Linked DNA regions of Homo sapiens: region 1 is linked to region 2. Evidence: promoter capture Hi-C in 16 types of primary human blood cells and fetal thymus (Javierre and others, 2016). All regions are on one chromosome and are shown on one strand. The core of a region is centred on a gene start or on the middle of the fragment in contact, and the rest is flanking DNA. Distances in the headings are between cores, read along the strand shown.

Region 1 (3,285 bases), core at 8-2,507, 560 kb after region 2:
GTCTCTCCTGCCCATCTGCAGGAAATAGTGTCTCTCAGGTCTCCACGTCAACAGACCAGAGCCAGGGGCAGTGCCTTCACTGGCAGATGGGCCCAGTGGCTAAGCCCAGGCTCCAGAAGGGGTGGTGACCCCACCCTCAGAGTGGAGGCCAAAGCAGGTGAACTTCCTCTAAGCACACAACGATGACGAGCTAAAGCTGGTTTGCGCCCTAATCAATGCAGTGTCCCTCCGAGCTCCTGGCCTAATGAAGGAAATGACAAGTTGATTGCCAGGACAATAAGAAATGACCACAGGAAAGACAAAATGCAGACACTCTATCTACAAGCAAACAAGTCTGGTTAATTAGTTTAAGATGAGTCAGGAGCCCGGGGAGATGGGAGGATTTTTAAATCAGCTACAGATAAAAATCAAGAATTTAAGAAGTGCGTTCAGCTTTTCTTGCTACATGAGATCTGAGCAGTTAATTCTGGCCTTGAATGACCTCCAGAGCCAACATTAAGGGGTGACTTAGCAAATGGTCCATGGGATTGCGAGGACAGTGGAAAGCCCTGTCCATGGCCCCACACGGTGCTCTCTTTGCAAAGAGCCTTGGGAGAGATTTCTTTCTGCCCCCCGCACTCCCAGGGCTTTTCATGAAATAGCGTTTGGCTCCTATCACGGCTCTCAGAACTGCTCAGGTTTCCTTTTGCTTTAGCTTTGAAGAAGCTCAGGGTCAAAATTCTGGCCCGTGGTAGCAACTGCATAGCATCTCATAGTACGCATGTTATGAGCTGACTTTATTCCCTGGCTTCATTGGATCCTTATTTCATCATTACCTGTTCCTCCTTACTTCCTCATTCATTTTCTTTTTGTCCTATTGCTTTGTAACTCTTTCTGCAAAGCTTCAGATACTTGTAGGAAACAAAAGAGGAAAATTATTCCCAAACTTTTAAAGATTACATGGGATTTTTAAAAACCACTGACACGTGGCTCCCACCCCCTAGACATTCTAGGGTATAATTTAGGTGCCGAGAGTTTTTAAAGCTCCCCAGGTGATTCTGGCAGTCATCAAAATTTGATATGAGTAGATACATAATACCCTCATCATCCGGCTTGCTCTTCTCAACCAACCTTATTCTCTCTAACCATAAACACTCTTAACCACCTATCTACCCCCGGTTCTCAAATTCCCATTCTCTCTCACACCCATCCAAAAATCCCTTTTACAGTTCAGGTCCAAATGCAAACTCTACATGTGCCACAAAATCTCCCCTGACTGTTCCAGTTTACCCTGGTTCCAGTTCACATTCATCTCTCTTTCTCTAGTGCACTTAGGAGATTTAGAGCAATGGGCCTCCGTGCCACTGGAGGAGATCGTACCTCTCACTGCTTCTGCATGTTTAGAATGGTTTGATATTGTGAAACCACAGTTCTGCAACACCACTCGAGATTTGTAGGTGAAAGGGAGGGAGCACCTTGCGGAGTCAGAAAAGGCATATGGAAAGGGTTTTATGCCGTGAATGGCCTGTCAGCTCAGGCATGCCAATCACCAGTGCCCTCAGGGAAGCTACGAACTCTGTGTCCTATTCAGGTCAAAATAAGAGAAGAAGCAAAGGAAAACTGCTGCTCTCAACTGAAATCTGAGGGAAGCTTGATCAGCCTGGACATGAGCTCAGAACAAAGGATGGGGAGACTGGGCTTCACCGAGGGGAGGTGAAAGGGTGCCGTGAACAGACACTCCTCCAGGGGCTGAGGGGTGAGAAACGCTGCCCGCCAGACCAGCCCATGCAGGGCAGCTGGACACTCAGGGGAGAAGGTGCTGGGCTCCTAGAACAAGAAGTCTCTCACCTGGGGCCTTATACCAAAGAAAGTAAGGATCGAGAATCTCACCAGGCCAGGCAGCACCCCTATCTACCTTGAGCCTAATCAGAGTAGCAGGACCTAGTATCCAACCAGAAAAGATTGAGTGGAATGATCCCCAATGAAAGAACTGGAGAAAGTGCTATGGAATCACAAGAAGGAAAAAAATTTATAGCTGGCCTCAAGAGTTTATTTGAAATAAATAGGTTTAGCTTGCTAACATGTCTCTATTGACTAAATACTATGTGAAACTTCTCTAATCTTTGCAGCTTGGTTATGCCTTATATTCCCCGCTAATCCTCACTTCCACCTACTTGCTATAGTGAATCACAGTAGAACACTGAAAAAGGCGTCTGCAAGTCCAAGTGCGGCGGCTCACACCTGTAATCCCAGCACTCCGGGAAGCTGAGCCAGGATGACCGCTTGAGCCTAGGAGTTCAAGACCAGCCTGAGCAACAAAGTGAGACCTTGTCTCTATAAAAAGTCTTAAAAATAGCCAGGCATAGTGGCATGCATCTGCTCCTCAGGGGGCTAAGGCAGGAGGATTGCTTGAGCTCAGGAGTTCGAGGCTCCAGTGAGCTAGGATTACCACTGCTCTCCAGCCTAGGCGACAGAACAAGACCCTGTCTCTCCCTCCCAAAAGCCTCTGCGGTTGTTTTCAGGGACAGCAAGGAAGAAGGGAGCCAGTCCCAGAAAAATAAAATAAAATAAAATAAGAGACAGTGTAGGTGGTGGCCGTTGCACAAGGAGAGGAAGCCAGACTGAATCCCTGGGGGCATCAGAGGAGCTGGCCTCAGTCAGAAAACCCTGGGAAGCCCCTCAGGGGCTCCCCCTAATTATATGCAACTCTAAAGTAATAAGACTAATCTTTTTTAAAGCATCAAACATCTGGGGAGAAGGGTGAGGGCCATGGTTAGTGCACAGACTGGAATCATGCCTCCTGGATTTAAATCCTGGCTCCACTTACTTTCTAGCTGCGTGAACTTGGGTAAGGCACTTGAACTCTCTGTGCCTCTGTGTCCTTGCCTGTAAAGGGGATAATTCTGGTACCCATTTCATTGGTTGTTTATGATGGCTAAATGAGTTAATAAGCGTAATCCCCCGAGCACAGTGCCTGGCACATGATGAGAGCACCCTGTGTTTGTTATAATTATTATTACCCATCACATATATTGAAATAAGTTCTGTACTTTCACATAGTGTTCAGAGACCACAAATTTCTTCCCAGAAAGCACTAGTGGACTCCTTTGAGAATTGCCTTCAATTCTCAAAAGCCTGTGACACAACCTTTTGACTCTTTTCAAAGGTGACCGATCTATGGCCTTTGAGAGTGGGTTTAATGTTTAAAAACTTAAAATTATATCCAGATTCAACTTTGGCAAAACTGGGTGATGAAGTTGAGTAACACTGAACAGGGTCAAAAGCAAGTTATGTCCAAAAAATAAC
Region 2 (2,857 bases), core at 138-2,637:
AACCCAAGTGTTCGATACCAGCCTGGGCAACATGGAGAGACCCACTGTCAAAAATAAAAATAAAAATAAAAATAGGACGGGCGCGCTGGCTTACGCCTGTAATCCCAGCACTTTGGGAGGCAGAGGTGGGCGGATCACGACGTCAGGAGATCGAGACCAGTCTGGCCAACATAGTGAAACCCTGTCTCTACTAAAAATACAAAAGATTAGCCGGGCGTGGTGGCACATGCCTGTAATCCAGCTACTTTGGAGGCTGAGACAGGAGAATTGCTTGAACCCGAGAGGCGGAGGTTGCAGTGAGCCGACACCGCGCCACTGCACTCCAGCCCGGGCGACAGAGACTCCGTCTCAAAAAAATATATAAATAAAAATAATGTTGGCGAGAGATTAAGAAAAACTTTAGGTTCAACTGAAGTTAAAGTTTCTCATATTGTTTCATTTTTTTTCCCTATCTTTTGTTTATTTGGTCTCTGTATTTGTTCCTTTTTACCGTTCCTGACATGTATTTGCTGTTGGGGAAGATACTGATGCAACGACGCTACGAGCCGCGTTCTGTGATTCCAATTATTTATCCCCAGAAACTGGTCTTAGAAATCTGAAGTACTGGCCGGGCGCAGTGGCTCAAGCCTGTAATCCCAGTACTTTGGGAGGCCGAGGCGGGCGGATCACGAGGTAAGGAGATCAAGACCACCCTGGCTAACACGGTGAAACCCCGTCTCTACCAAAAATACAAAAAAAAAAACGGGCGCGGTGGCGGGCGCCTGTAGTCCCAGCTACTTGGGAGGCTGAGGCAGGAGAATGGCGTGAACCCAGGAGGCGGAACTTGGAGTGAGCCGAGATCGCGCCACTGCACTCCAGCCTGGGCGACAGAGCAAGACTCCGTCTCAAAAAAAAAAAAAGAAAAAAAAAGAAAGAAATCTGAAGTACTCCTAAGCATAGTGAATAAAATAATACATTTCTCACCACCACCATCACCGCTTTTAATAAAGTCTTTGACCTCTCTGTGTTGACTCCCTCTGGTTTGAGGTTTACCTAAATACATTCCTCTTGCAAAGACTGAAGTCAACATTAAAAAAAAAAAAAAAAAAAAAAAAAAAAAGACGGCAGCCTTTTGACCTCCCAACCCCCCTATAGTCAGATAGTCAAGAAGGGCATTATCTGGCTTACCTGAATCGTCCCGGGAATTTTCTTCGGTGAGCATTTGTGGAGACCCTGGGATGTAGGTTGGATTAAACTGTGATGGGTCCATCGGCGTCTTGACACAACACTAGGCTTCTCCAGGATCTTTGAAACGTAGCAGAAACTGATGACAGAGCCTCAAATTGCTACCAGGTAGCCCGGAAAGAGGCTGAAAACCGGAGCTCCAACGAATGGTCAAAGAACTGACGTAAACTATAGGTCCGGCTTCCTTTTAAAATACAGATAAGCCAATCTTCCAGGATATTTGAATGTTAATGATCCCATGATTAGAGGATTAAGGGATCCAAATGATTAAAGGTGAATGGGTGTAGTTTAGACTCATAGGGTAGTTCTTCATCTGCTTTGCATTAAAATAATCTGTCGGATGTCATATCTGCTAGAAAATTTATTAAAATCCTCTTTTTGTGGTTCTGTCTCCCTGAGGTTGCCTTACATATAAGTTGTTTTTTTCTTGTTTTTTTTTTTTTTTTTTTTTCCCAAACTCTACTCCTGGAGATGGCTTCTGTTTTGTGAACTGGGCTTAAGTGTTCTAGTGCAGAGGAGAATGGCAGTTTTTACCGCCCCCGCCCCACCACCACCACTGCCCATAAACTCCCAATTAAGCTGAGAAAGTTTCCTTTAAGTTTTCCTTGCTTCAATCATCTTAAACCTTTGCTGCTACTAAGAAGAGAGGAATAATGAAGAAGTATCTGTTATGAACACTTTCATAGCTTGATATTTTAGGGACATGTATTTTTTATTTGTTAATTTGCTTTATAAACTATAAACAGTACCTAACATTTCTGAGCAGCTGAAATTAACTAACCTTACAAATTGCTACTCCCTCCCCACAAAAAAATGCTTGTATTTGTAGCAAAGCACAACAACATTTAACCACTGATTGTCTGCAGGAGGTGGAAGAACAAGTCCCCAGCTGCCCCTCTCATCTTTTTCCCGTCTTATTCAAATACGCACGTTCCCCCATTCCCTCTCTAGGTGGAAACCACGAGAAAATACTCAAAGGCAACCTTGTTTGGGTTTGGTAAAAAGCAAAAATTGAAGTTATGATTAAGAAATATTTTCATAGAGAATGAGCAGCCATAGGCATAGATCATGTCCCAACACTTTATGCAAGTGATTCTCAAAAGTGTGGTCTCCAGGATCGCTTAATCACCCAGCAGTTAAAGGCTGCAGTGACCTATGATCGTGCCACTGCACTCCAGCCTGGTAGACAGGGCAGGACCCTGCCTCTTGGGAAAAAAAAAAAAGTGCAGTTTACAACAAGCACCTAGTTAACTTAGATATACAAATTCTGAGCTCCAAACCAGCCCTACTGAATCAAAGACTGGCGCCCAGTGGTAATGCTTTAACAAGCCTCCCAGGCAATTCTGCATTTAGCCAGAAGACCCAGAAGTGATCCCCAGGTGATTCTGATGGGTGCTCAAGTTAAGCAGCCCTGCTTTACGGCACTGTGAACTTTCTACTTCTGTTGTTCAGCTCTTGGCTAATCTCCCTCTTGCCTGGGGAATCTCTGATAATCAGTCCGCAAGAATTTCACTGGAGAGATAAATACAAAAAAATCCCATTGCAGGGGGTTTAGGATTAGGAGGTGAGATAACAAAAAGGGCTGAAATAGACTCTCATTTGTAAAAAACCTAGGCTGGGCACAGTGGCTCAC

The links. The method cuts DNA at HindIII sites, captures the fragments that hold promoters and counts their contacts. A CHiCAGO score of 5 or more calls a contact.
Region 1: a contact is called between a fragment that was not itself captured here and the fragment with the promoter of DPPA3 in region 2, in 1 of 17 cell types (M1 macrophages). The highest score is 5.1, in M1 macrophages.

Annotation. Positions count from the first base shown.
Region 1 is chr12:7,152,358-7,155,642 of GRCh38, reverse strand. The region is part of intron 16 of CLSTN3 (calsyntenin 3); the gene reads right to left. Among named protein-coding and RNA genes, the nearest start is that of CLSTN3, 24 kb to the right of the region's middle. The HindIII fragment of the contact is 748 bases long and covers 884-1,631 here.
Region 2 is chr12:7,709,963-7,712,819 of GRCh38, reverse strand. DPPA3 (developmental pluripotency associated 3) reads right to left here and starts at 1,387. Exons shown (of 4, transcript NM_199286.4): 1 at 1,168-1,387. The coding sequence starts at 1,249. The HindIII fragment of the contact is 13,723 bases long and covers 1-2,857 here.